Linked DNA regions of Homo sapiens: region 1 is linked to region 2. The links are contacts of gene promoters, found by promoter capture Hi-C in human tissues and cell types (Jung and others, 2019). All regions are on one chromosome and are shown on one strand. The core of a region is centred on a gene start or on the middle of the fragment in contact, and the rest is flanking DNA. Distances in the headings are between cores, read along the strand shown. Region 1 holds the start of PEX11G (peroxisomal biogenesis factor 11 gamma). Region 2 holds the start of CAMSAP3 (calmodulin regulated spectrin associated protein family member 3).

Region 1 (6,742 bases), core at 3,142-5,641, 110 kb after region 2:
CCCAGGAGTTTGAGACCAGCCTGGCCAACATGGTGAGACCCTATTTCTATTAAAAACTCCAAAAATTAGTGGGGGCGTGGTAGCAGGTGCCTGTAATCCCAGCTGGTTGGGAGGCTGAGGCAGGAGAATTGCTTGAACCCGGGAGGTGGAGATGGCAGTGAGCCGAAATCATGCCACTGCACTCCAGCCTGGGCAACCGAGTGAGACTCTGTTTAAAAACAAAAACAGAAAGAGAGAGAGACAGAGAGGAAGAAAATCACAGGAGTGGACAAGGCCTTTCTTGTGCCCCCTTGTGTTCCATGCTCCCTTGGAGCACAAGAAGAGATCTTTGGACAGGGCAGTGAAACTTACAAAACAGATTCTCTGTTTTCTGCCAGGCTGTGCGGATATAGCCATGAACAAGACAGGTCACCAGCAGGTAACATGGGTAGGAAGTGTCCAGGAGGGTGTGATCGGGTGGGTCCCGTGAGAGGATGACATTCGAGTAAAGGAAGTTAGGGAAGGAGGGAGCCACGTTGGTATCTGGCTCAAGAACATTTCTGCAGAGGAAACAGAACATGCAAAGTTCCTGAGGCAGGAATCTGCTGTAACTTTAAACAACAGGAGGAAAGCAATGCAGGAGAAGAGTAACAAGAGTTGAAATCAAGAGGAAATATTCTGTGAAAGAAAACTGGTTAACATCGAGGCCAGACGCGGTGACTCACGCCTATAATCCCAGCACTTTGGGAGGCCGAGGTGGGCAGATTTCTTGAGATCAGGAGTTGGAGACCAGCCTGGCCAACATGGCGAAACCCCGTCTCTACTAAAAGTCTAAAATTAGCCGGGCACAGTGGCGGGTGTGCTGTAATCCCAGCTATTTGGGAGGCTGAGGCATGAGAATCGCTTGAACCTGGGAGGTGGAGGTTGCAGTGAGCTGAGATCAGCACTGCACTCCAGCCTAGGCAATAGAGTGACACTCTGTCTCAAAAAAAAAAATTCAAACAAACCAACAAACAGACTCGTTGACATCATTAGTCATCAGGAAAAGGCAAAACAAAACCACAATGGGGTGGCACGTCACACCTACTACGATGGCTATCATAATCAAAAAAGGATGTTGCAAGGAAGTGGCGAAATTGGAACCTTTGTGTAATGCTGGTGGGGATGGAAAATGGTACTGCTACTGTGGGAAACAGTTGGGCAATTACTCAAAAAGTTCAACATAGAGTTACAAAATGACCCAGCAACCCCACTTCTAGGTATAGACCCAAAGGAATGGAATCCAGGGACTCCAACTACATATTCACAAATGTTTATAGCTGTACTTATTCACGATCGCTAAAAGGCAGAAACAGCCCAAATGACCATCAGCTGATACGTGGATAAACAAAATGTGGTCCATCCATATGGCGCAATGTTATATAGCTGCAAGTGGAATGAATTTCTGATACATGCTGCAACTTAGACAAACCTCAACACCATTATGCTCAGCTGCACGCAGTGGCTCACACCTGTAATCCCAGCACTTTGGGAGGCCAAGGCAGGAGGATCCCTTGAGTCCAGGAGGTCGAAACCAGCCTGGTGAACATAGCGAGACCGCATCTCTACAAAAGAAAAATTTTAAAAATTGGCCAGATGTGGTGGCGTGCACCTGTAGTCCCAGGCAATGTGGAGGCTGAGGCAGGAGGATCTCTCAGGCCCAGGAGTTCAAGGCTGCAGTGAGCTATGATCACACCACCGCACTCCAGCCTGGTGACACAGCAAGACCCTGTCTCAAAAACAAAAAGCAAAAACCAAAACAACCTATTATGCTTGGTGGAAGAGGCCGACACAAATGGTCACATATTGTATGATTCCATTTGTATGAAATATCAAGGAGGTCGGGCATGGTGGCTCATGCCTGTAATCCCAGCACTTTGGGAGGTCGAGGCAGGCAGATCCCTTGAGGTCAAGAGTTCAAGACCAGCCTGGCCAACATGGTAAAATCCATCTCTACTACAAATACAAAAATTAGCCGGGTGTGGTGGTGCGCACCTGTACTCTCAGCCACTTGGGAGGCCGAGGCAGGAGAATTGCTTGAACTTGGGAGGCGGAGGCTGCCGTGAGCTGAGATCATGCCACTGCACTCCAGTCTGGGTGACAGAGTGAGACTCTGTCTCAAAAAAAAAAAAAAAAAAAAAAAATCAAGAAGTGGTAAAAATACAGAGAGACAGCAGAGAATGCAGATTAGTGGTTGCCAGGGGCTGGGAGGAGGGAGGAATTGAGTGATTGCTTTATGGGAACAGGGTGTAGGGGAGGAAACATACTTTTTCCTTTATTCTTAGTTCTTAGCTGTGATGGATCCTTGCAATGAAAGAATTAAGAAGGGCGGGTGCGGTGGTTCACGCCTGTAATTCCAGCACTTTGGAAGGTCGACGTGGGAAGATTGCTTAAGCCCAGGGCTCAAGGCCAGCCTGGGTAACATGGTAAGACTCCATTTCTACAAAAAATAAAAAATAAAAAGAAATTAGCCAATTGTGGTGGCAGGCACCTGTGGTCCCACCTACTCAGGATGCTGAGGTGGCAGGATGGCTTGATCCCAGGAGTTCAAGGCTGCAGTGAGTTAAGATCGTGCCGCTGCACTCTACCCCTTTTTTGTGGGTAGTTGGTCAAGCTACCATGGGGCAGAATGTAGCAAGCTCTGGGCATCATCCTGGGTCCTCAGGCCCAGAGAGCACACAAGTGGCGGCTTCACATCTACAAATTTGGTTCCTCCCAGAGCGAGGCCCTGTCTCAAAAAAAAAAAAAAAAAAAAAAAAAAAAAATAGAGGCCAGGCGCGGTGGCTCACGCCTGTAATCCTAGCACTTTGGGAGGCAGAGACGGGCGGATCACGAGGTCAGGAGATCAAGACCATCCTGGCTAACACGGTGAAACCCCGTCTCTACTAAAAATACAAAAAAAAAAAAAAAAAAAAAATTACCCAGGCGTGGTGGCGGGCGCCTGTAGTAGTGCCAGCTACTCGGGAGGCTGAGGCAGAAGAATGGCGTGAACCCGCGAGGCGGAGCTTGCAGTGAGCCGAGATCGTGCCACTGCACTCCAGCCTGGGCGACAGAGCGAGGCTCCGTCTAAAAAAAAAAAATTAACAAGGGAAAAACAAATTTATTAACATGTGTACCTTATGTGTACATGGGAGATGCCAAGAGAAATGAGGTGGCTTATATAGCTTATATAACTCCTGCTTATATAGCACCTTCAACATATAGCAGCAAATTTTTGGAGAAGTGACAAGACGAAGGAAAAGGACATTGAGGCCGGGTGCGGTGGCTCACGCTTGTAATCCCAGCACTTTGGGAGGCCGAGGCGGGCGGATCACTTGAGGCCAGGAATTTGAGAACAGCCTGGCCAACGTGGTGAAACCCCGACTCTACCAAAAATACAAAAATTAGCCGGGCACAGTGGTGCACAGCTGTGATCCCAGCTACTTGGGAAGCTGAGGCACGAGAATCGCTTGAACCAGGGAAGCGGAGGACGCAGTGAGCAGAGATGGCGCTACTGCACTCTAGCTTTGGGGACAGAGCAAGACTCCGTCTCAAAAAAAAAGAAAAAAAAAAAAAAGACGTCTCCAGACAAGAGTCTAAAGGTGTCCCTGGTGATCAACCTTTGTCCTTCCTGGTAGAGAGGGGAGGAGGGCACCTTTGTACCTTTAGGTCCTGCTTTGAGGCAAATCAGGGAAGAACAGAGAGCTTTTCCGGTATCAGCTTCATTGATCTCAGCTCAAAATAATCCTACACCAAGGTCGCATATTTCAGAGGGGCATATGCTGGTCTCCTACGGGGGTCTCTCTTGGGGGTGATAAAAATACCCCGAAACTAGCAAGGGGTGATGGTTGTCCAACATGTGCATGTACTAATGTCACTGAATTGTGCATTTTTATTTTTTATTTATGTATTCTAGAACAATTCTTAACGTCCAAAGATAACGTCTTTCCTTAACGTCGAAAGATGCCTTGTTGTGATATTACAGCAGTCATTCCTGCTCACTACGGGCAGGCAGACAGTGCAGAAAAGGTGAAGCACAAAAACTAAAAAGGAAAATCTCTCCTTGAACCACTGCGAACAGGTTGGTGGTTTTGCTTGGAATATTTTTGGAGCGTGTGGGTAGTTGGTTAAACTTAGAAATATATTTTTTTGTGCGTGGGTAGTTGGCCAAACCGCCGTGGGGCAGAATGCAGCAAACTCCGAGGATGATCCAGGGTCTGCAGGCCTGGAGAGCACACACGTGTCGGCCCCACCTCTGCAAACTCTGTCCCTCCCCTACAGCGGACAAAAAGCCGGTCAGGGGGACAAAGGCCTGCGGCCGCGCCTGCGCGCAAGCCTTTGGGGCGCTCCCGGTACCCCGGCCTGGCCCCGCCCCCTGGCGCGGCGCGCCGACGTCGCGGTGACGTCACGGAGTTGCCATGGCGTCGCTGAGCGGCCTGGCGTCGGCGCTGGAGTCGTACAGGGGCCGGGACCGCCTGGTGAGGCAGGGGCGGACCGGGGCCGGAGGTCCTAGAGTTTGGCCCAAGCTCAGAGACTGGGAAACGGGCCAGAGAGGGGACGGGGTCGCCCAGGATACTCCGTCGCAGAGGCCCCGTCCGAGCTAGGCTCAAATGCGGTGCCCTAGCATTGGACATTTATGTATTTATTTATTTTGGCTGGAGTGCAGTGGTGCGATCTCTGCTCACTGCAGCCTCCGCTTCCCGGGTTCAAGCGATTCTCCTGCCTCAGCACTCCCGAGTAGCTGGGACTACAGGCGCCCGCCACCACTCCCTGCTATTTTTTTGTATTTTTAGTAGAGACGGAGTTTCATCGTGTTAGCCAGGATGGTCTCGATCTCCTGGCCTCAAGCGATCCACCTGCCTCGGCCTCCCAAAGTGCTGGGATTACAGGCGTGAGCCACCGCGTCTGGCCAGCGTTGGACATTTAGATAGTTTCTGCCAACCCAACCTGTCTGGACATTGACACACTGGCCAGATTCCCGTGTTTGGACGTTTTGGATCCGACCAGGCCACTGAAGTTGTCCTGAACAATCTCGTGTTGGGATTTGGGATGTTGCAGGGCTCCCCTGTGGCTGGACATTCACTTCCAACCAGATTCCCTATAGTTGGGCATTTAGGTTGTTTCAGCCAACCTAGACCAAAGAACACGCCATGGCCTGGGCCCTGCCATGCCTAAGCAGCGATGGGTTCCAACAAAACCCCAGTTGGTCATTTAGATCGTCTCTGCCAACCCAGCCTGGCTGGACGTTTACATACCAAACAGATTCCCATGTTTGGACATTTAGGATCTGACCGGGCCACTGTAGTTGGTCCCTGGGTTGTCCCAAACAATCTCATGTGGGGATTTAGGATATTGCAAGACTCTCCCTATGGCTGGACAGTTTTTAGTTCCAATCAAGTCCCATATGGTTGAACATTTAGGTTATGCCATCCATGCCCCTGAGTCTGGACTCTTAGCTTGTCCCCACCAGTCTCTTATAGGTAGACATTCAGGTTGTACCAGGCGGTGTACTGGTGGCTAGGCATTTAGATTCCATTCAAATATCTTATGATTGGGGGGGTGGGTTAACAAATCTCCCCCGAGTTGAACATTCAGATTGCAGTGTTTTGCCATTATAATGGGGCTGGAAAGGAATTACAAGTAAAAATAAATAAAACAACAGGAACAAGCAATTTCTGAAAAGCAGGTAAAATAAAGATATAAGGGAGGCCAGGCGTGGTGGCTCGCGCCTGTGATCCTAGCACTTTGGGAGGCTGAGCTGGGTGGATTGTCTGAGCTCAGGAGTTTGAGACCAGCCTGGGAAAAGTGATGAAACCTCGTCTCTACTAAAATACAAAAATTAGCCGGATGTGGTGGTGCGTGCCTGTAGTCCCAGCTACTTGGAAGGCTGAGGCGGGAGAATTGCTTGAACCTGGGATGCAGAGGTTGCAGTGAGCTCACACCTTTGCACTCGAGCCTGGGGAGCAGAGCAAGACTCTGTCTCCAAAAGAAAAAAGATCTGAGTAGTGAAGATGACCTATTTCAGAAGGCTCCACATCACCTACTGAGTAGGTTCTTTCTCTCTAAAGTAATTCTACCAAATTATCCTGTTGTTCACTGGGTTGAGGCCTGATCACCTGTGCCCACCATTCAGCACATCCAAAGGCTTTGGTCCAGGCAGGTAGATGTAAATATACACTTTAGCTGTGGCTTCCTGCCACCTGGGAAAAGAAGGACCTAGGAGGTGGGAAGTAAGGAGCTTTGTTTTCTTTGTTCCTGTCACATCTGTTCCCAAAGGCTGTGCCCTTCAGTTACATCAATGATGTCATGTTTCTTCATTTGTCCCACCTCCAAGTATGTTTTTAAACTTCCAGCTTTTTTTTTCTTTTTCTTTTTCTTTTTTTAGACAGGGTCTCGCCCTGTTGCCCAGGCTGGAGTGTAGTAGCACGATTACAGCTCACTACAGTCTGGAACTCCTGGGCTCAAGTGATCCTCCAGCATCAGCCTCCCAAGTAACCACCATGCCCTGTTAACTTAAAAAAATTTTTGGTAGCCAGGCGCGGTGGCTTACGCCTGTAATCCCAGCACTTTGGGAGGCCGAGGCGGGTGGATCATGAGGTCAGGAGATCAAGACCATCCTGGCTAAAATGGTGAAACCCCATCTCTACTAAAAATACAAAAAATTAGGTGGGCTTGGTGGCGGGTGCCTGTAGTCCCAGCTACTCGGGAGGCTGAGGCAGGAGAATCGCATGAACCCGGGAGGTGG
Region 2 (6,716 bases), core at 1,400-3,899:
TTGCCAGAACTATCCCTTCCTCTGAGCCATCACTACTCCCACGGGGCCACTGCATACCTGATCTTGTCAGTTCCCAACACTGTCCGTGGCTCCCCAGTACCCTTGGATCCATAACCAGGGGCCTGAAGGGCCTTCCTCAGTCTGACCAGCCTCCCTTATCTCCCACCGCCACCCCGGGGACCTGCATCTTATTCTCTGAGAACTCCCTGCTGGTCCACACTCCGAGCCTTTGCCCACTGCCCACACATCTCTTCTCCGTGTCAAACTTCCATGCATCCTTCCAGACTCAAATCTTTCCACCTGTGGGATCTCTTCCCTCCCTGGAAGATTTCAAGAATTTCTTTCCCCAGGCCCCGCTGGCCAGCTTCCCTATGATCTGGTTTCCTGCCCATCCCCCTCTGCCCCATATCCATCCCCTGCCGTCTCCTCTACACCCTGAGCGCCCAGCCCAGCACCTGATAGGTATCATACCGTCAAGAGTCCCCAGAGCTCATGAATCTTGTAGAACTCTGCTCCCATTTCCTTCAGCCCTTCTCCTCTTTTTAGGGGAGTGGAACAGGGAACAGATTGAACTTGACCCTCACGGTAGAGGCAGCCACTGCCGTGTGTCACACAGCAGAGGGAGCTGGGTCAACAAGAACAGAACTGGGTGAGTCAGGGCACTGGGAGCTCACCAACACCCCTCATCAGAAGTTTGCTTTGCTGTCTTCAAAATGGGATAATTTCTACTCTGATTCCTGGCCAGGGGATAATGGATAACGTTAATATTATTCATCAAAATATACCACCGCCAATCACACCAGCAGCGAGCAACCGTTTCGCATGTATCACGCGCCCCGTGCCACGCGAAGAATTCTGTGGTCACTACAGCTTTTACGCCTCCCAGCAACCTTGCAAAGAGGTAACGGGGGGTCTCCATCACTGGAGCAGTGCCCTACACATAGCAAGTGCCCCTGCCCCACAAACATTCGCAAAACAGATAAGTCTGTGAATGAACGCCTTCTTTTATAGAAGGGGAAACAGAAGCTCAGATAATTGGGATAATTCGCATTCTGGTGCAGCTGGACTTCACATTCAATTCTGACACTCCACGTTGAGTTCTCTACAGCCTGGTAACCTTGGAAGTGAGGAGCTGGGGCTGTCCTGGCTGTCCAATGCCCAATCTCTTTCTTCCTCAAGCAAATATCTGCAGGGAGGTAGACCCCAGAGTGGGAAATGCATGCATGGAACGACGCAGACAGAGACTGTCTGGGAGAAAGAGGGACAGGCTGGGGCGGAACCAGGAGACGGACAGCTGTCACTGAGACCCACACCCAGAACAGGTTGATCTGGGAAGGCCAGGGAGAGGGGGGATGGGCTGTGCCAACACCAGTGGGCAGAACCAGTGGGAGAAAAGGATGTACCCCCACAGCTCCCCGCTGGAAAGCCCAGACCTTAATTAACCCCTGTCTTCTCTGGCCAGGCCCTGACTCCTAGCTCTGGCCTGGGGTTGTGAAGCTGCCCAAAGCCGAGACTGAGTGTTTCCAGGGCCTCTAATCCCGGGGACCCGGGATTACGGCATCCTCCCCATTAGGGTGGCTCGGGCTCTCAGGCAAGCGGGCCTGGGGGAGGGAGTGAAGGATCTGCTCTAATGGGAGAAGGCCCCGCAGCCGGGAGGAGCGGGGGGCCCACCCCAGGCGATCTTGTACTACCCATTTCCCTTCAGCTGGGCTCGCCAACCTCCCCAGTAAAATGGGGCCATAAGTCGCAGCTGCCAGGCGCTGGAGGGGGCTATGGAGGCGAAAGGGGGTTCCCAGAGCTCCCCGGTCGCCGCCCGCAGCGCGGCCAGGGCCGACGCGGGGTGTGTGTTGGGGCCTGGGGGTCGTGCGGTGGTGGAGACCGGAGCGCTCGAGACCCCCCAGCGAGGTCGGGGTCTGGGTCTCCAGGGTGTGTGGCGGGGGAAGAGACCGAGAGGAGATCCTCGCAGGGGCGTGATGTGTGTAAAAGAGAAGAAGGCGTGCAAGGGAAGGCCTTGGGGGTGCGGGAGGCGGGAACGAGAGGTCCGCACGGGGAGACCCCACCCGGCCCGCAGACCCCGCCCGGCTCACCTGGAGGCTTGGACGCCGGGGACCCCCGCGCGGAGCTGGGCCGCGGGCCCCACCCCCACCGCGCTCCCGCAGCCGGCGGGGCAAAGTCCACCGCCCGGGCCGAGCAGGAAGCTCGGAGGCCCCGGCGCGGCAGGGGCCCGAGCCCGGGGACCCCCGGCGGCCGGCGCTATTGTTCCCACGGCCCCCTGCCTTCCCGGCCCGGCGCCCCGCCCCCCCCCAGCACCTGCCGCGCCCGGCCCGCCGCCCCCGACCCCGGTCCCCCGAGCCCCGGTACCTGCGCCCCCGAACGCGGCCCGCAGCACCCACGCCAGGCTGGCCGCCGCCTTGGCCCGCGAGAAATCGTACTGGTCCAGCGACTTGATCTCGGGCACTAGAAAGGTCCTCCGCAGCGGCCCGGGCCCGGGGGGCGCCGCCTCCACCATGGCGGCGCCGGGGCTGCGGGCGCCGGGTCCGCGCTCGGACTGGGCTGGGCTGGGCTGCGCCGCGCTCGCGCCCCAGCCGGGCCCGCTGCTGCTACCGCCGCTGCCGCCGCCGCCGCCGCCGCCGCTGCTGAGCCAGGTGCGGCCGCTTGCGCTGGCGACGCTGCGTCGGGCCCGCCCCGGGGAGGAGCCCAGGTGCGCCCCGCCCCCGAACCCGGACCCGGACCCTGGCGCGCCCCTGCGCCCCGCCCGGGCCCCTCACTGCAGTGTGCACGGAGCAGCAGGGGCGGGGCGGAGGGGGGCGGCCTGGACTGCGGCGATGGTGGAGGGAGCTTGCGGAGGACTGAGTGTGTATGTGTGCGCGCGCGCGTGTGTGAGTGTGTGCGCGCGCGCCTAGCTTACTGGAAAGGATTAGGGACCCTCTGTGTGTGCCAGCCCCAGTGTCTACCCTTAGGCGTAGGAGCTCCTGCAAGTGCTTGCAATAAACGCCGGCCCTCAGGCAGAGAGTGGTTGGGTGCACCTGTTTCTGATTATGTTAGTGAAGGCACAAGAATATGAGTGTCTTCGTATCTGTGTATCTCTGAATACATTTGGGTGGTGACCAAGTGTATTGGGGGGTGTCTAGGGGTGTGTGTGTGTGGGGTATGTATCTGGGCACGTGTAAGTGTGTGTTTAATTTGTTGTGTGTACAAGGATATGTATTATATAGATGTCTGTATCCTGAGGATGGATGGAAGTGATGAGTGTGTGTCTGTTTTTTGTTTTTGTTTTTGTTTTTGTTTTTGAGACAGGGTCTCACTCACTCTGTCTCCCAGGCTGGAGTGCAGTGGCGCGATCTCGACTCACTGCAACCTCCGCCTCCCAGGCTCAAGCGATTCTCCTGCCTCAGCCTCCCGAGTAGCTGGGATTACGGGGTTGCGCCACCACTCCCGGCTAATTTTTGTATTTTTAGTAGAGTTGGGGTTTCACCATGTTAGCCAGGCTAGTCTCAAACTCCTGACCTCAGGTGATCACCCGCCTCAGCCTCCCAAAGTGCTGGGATTACAGGCGGCAGCCACCGTGCCCGGCTGTGTGTGTGTTTTTGGAGTGCTGTGAGTATGTCTATCTCTGTGCATCTGAACGTACTGGTGTGTTGTATGAGGCTGTTATTGATGCCTCTGTCAATGCAGGAGTATGGAGAGACATTGAGAGTGTGTGTATTTCAGGCCGAGAGCGGTGGCCACGAGTGTAATCCCAGCACTTTGGGAGGCCAAGGCGGGCAGATCACTTGAGGCCAGGAGTTCAAGAGTAGCCTGGCCAACATAGCAAAACCCCGTCTCTACTAAAAATAAAATTTTTAAAAATTAGCCGGGCATAATGGTGCATGCCTGTAATCCCAAGTACTCGGGAGGCTGAGGCGGGAGAATCGCTTGAACCAGGGAGGCAGAAGCTGAGATAGTGCCACTGCACTCCAGCTTGGCCAACAGAGTGAGACCCTGTCTCAAAAAAAAAAAAAAAGTGTGTATATTTCTGCAAGAGTGTGACTATTTGTGTCTATGAGTGTCCTTGCGTAGCTGTACTGGGTGTATTTGCAAGTGTCTTTGTGTATTATTCTGGTATCTGCAGTGTGTGCTGGGAGAAGGCTCTGTGTGGAGGTGAGGCTGTGTGTCTAAGTGGGTTTGTATTTGAGTATGTGAATCTGGCTATATGCACATGGATGTGTGATTGATTGATTGATTGATTTTTTGAGACGGAGTCTCGCTCTATCGCTCAGGCTGGAGTGCAGTGGTGCGATCTTGGCTCACTGCAAGCTCTGCCTCCTGGGTTCATGCCATTCTCCTGCCTCAGCCTCCCGAGTAGCTGGGACTACAGGCACCCGCCACCACGCCCGGCTGGTTTTTTGTATTTTTTTTTAAGTAGAGACCGGGTTTCACCATGTTAGCCAGGATGGTCTCGATCTCCTGACCTCGTGATCCGCCCAACTCGGCCTCCTGAAGTGCTGGGATTACAGGCTTGAGGCACCGCGCCCAGCAGATGTGTGATTTATGATGAGCAGTTCCTGACTATATTTTTGTGCATATATGTGTGTTTATATGTGAGTATCTTTGTGGATTTGAATATATGGTGGGTGCCTGTGACAGATTGTGTAGGCATGAAAGCAGGTATACCTGTGCAAGAATGCCTGTTTCTGCTGGGTGCAGTGGCTCATGCCTGTAATCCCAGTGCTTTGGGAGGCTGAGGCGGGTGGATCACCTGAGGTCAGGAGTTCAAAACCAGCCTGGCCAACATGGTGAAACCCCATCTCTACTAAAAATACAAAAGTTAGCCGGGCGTGGTTGCCCACACCTATAATTGCAGCTACTTGGGAGGCTGAGGCAGGAGAATCGCTTGAACCCAGGAGGCAGAGGTTGCAGCAAGCTAGGATTGCACCACTGTACTCCAGCATGGGCGACAGAGTGAGACTCCGTCACATTAAAAAAAAAAAAAAGAATGCCTGTGTCTGAATGCTTTTGTGAGAGTTCAAATGTGCATATTTATCTAGGAATTCATATCTGTGTAAGCAAATGTATTTCTGTGTATGAATCTGATTGTGTCTGTAAGTATGGAAGTGTGTGTGAACGCGTTGAGTACAAATATTTGTGTACATGAGTGCAATTGTGTGTTTATTTGTAAGGTCTAAGCACCGATTTGTGGATTTTTGGTTTTTTTTTTTCTGTTTGTTTTTTTTTTTTTTTTTGAGACCGAGTCTCGCTCTGTCACCCAGGCTGGAGTGCAGTGGTGCAATCTTAGCTCACTGCAAGCTCCGCCTCCCGGGTTCGCGCCATTCTCCTGCCTTAGCCTCCCCAGTAGCTGGAACTACAGGCGCCGGCCACCATGCCCAGCTAATATTTTGTATTTTTAGTAGAGACGGGGTTTCATTGTGTTAGTCAGGATGGTCTTGATCTCCTGACCTCAGGTGATCCACCCGCCTCGGCCTCCCAAAGTGCTGGGATTACAGGCATGAGCCACCGCGCCCAGCCGGATGTTTTTAATATTTTAATATTTGCTTTTGTTCTATTGTTTGTTTTGTTGTTGTTGTTTTATTTTTTTTTTGGACAGGATCTCACTCTGTCACCCCAGGCTTGAGTGCAGTGGCACAATCATGGCTCACTGCAGCCACCATCCCTGGCTAATTTTTTGTTTTGTGTAGAGATGGGATCTCCTTATATTGCCCAGGCTGATCTCAAACTCCTAGGCTCAAGGGATCCTCCCACCTCGGCCTCCCAAAGTGCTGGGATTACAGGCATGTGCCACTGTGCTTGGCCCTCCATTGTATTTTTGTCAAAATATCCCCTGCATGCCTCTTAGCTGTATATAATTGTGAATGCACAAGTGTTTGTGTGAGTTCGTTCTTTACAGGCCTGGAAAGAAAAGTGTGTTACTTTCGGCCAGGCACGGTGGCTGAAGCCTGTAATCCCAGCACTTTGGGAGGCCGAGGCAGGTGGATCACTTGAAGTCAGGAGTTCAAGACCAGCCTGACCAACATGGTGAAACCCTGTCTCTACTAAAAATACAAAAATTAGCCAGGCATGGTGGCACATGCCTGTAATCCCAGCTACTTGGGAGGCTGAGGCAGGAGAAGCGCTTGAACCCAGGAGGCAGAGGTTGAAGTGAGCTGAGATCTTGCCACTGCACTCCAGCCTGGGTGACAGAGCCAGACTCTGTCTCAAAAAAAAAAAAAAAAGAAAAGAAAAACGTGTGTTACTTTCAGAACACACACACACACACACACATACATAGGCACCTTGTCACCTTGTGAACAGGAATAAGTGCTCACAGACTCACACAAATATTCACAAATTCACACAAATGTAAATGTCAGCTTCATGCACACAAATGCACTCAGAAAGTGATACGTAAAAAGATAACATACAGGCCGGGCACAGTGGCTCACTCCTGTAATCCCAGCACTTTGGGAGGCTGAGGCAGGTGCATCACCTGAGGTCAGGAATTCGAGACCAGCCTGGCCAACATTGTGAAACCCCATCTCTACTAAAAATACAAAAATTCCCTGTGTGTGGTGGCTGGCGCCTGTGATCCCAGCTACTCAGGAGGCTGAGGCAGAAGAATTGCTTGAACCCAGGAGGCAGAGGTTGCAGTGAGCTGAGATCGTGCCACTGCACTTTAGCCTGGGCGAAAGAGCAGGACTCCATCTCAAAAAGAAAAAAAAAAAAAAAAGACCGGGCCCAGT

What was found. Contacts are between HindIII fragments. The study calls those that stand out against the background at their distance.
Region 1: a contact is called between the fragment with the promoter of PEX11G here and the fragment with the promoter of CAMSAP3 in region 2, in 1 of the 25 tissues and cell types used here (liver).

What each region holds. Positions count from the first base shown.
Region 1 is chr19:7,486,684-7,493,425 of GRCh38, reverse strand. It overlaps PEX11G (peroxisomal biogenesis factor 11 gamma), which reads left to right and starts at 4,391. Exons shown (of 5, transcript NM_080662.4): 1 at 4,391-4,475. The coding sequence starts at 4,416. RefSeq lists silencers at 389-683, 4,205-4,534, 4,585-4,644. The HindIII fragment of the contact is 14,364 bases long and covers 1-4,595 here.
Region 2 is chr19:7,591,796-7,598,511 of GRCh38, reverse strand. It overlaps CAMSAP3 (calmodulin regulated spectrin associated protein family member 3), which reads right to left and starts at 2,649. Exons shown (of 17, transcript NM_020902.2): 1 at 2,362-2,649. The coding sequence starts at 2,509. RefSeq lists an enhancer at 1,065-1,670 and silencers at 2,510-2,949, 5,013-5,213. The HindIII fragment of the contact is 16,585 bases long and covers 1-6,716 here.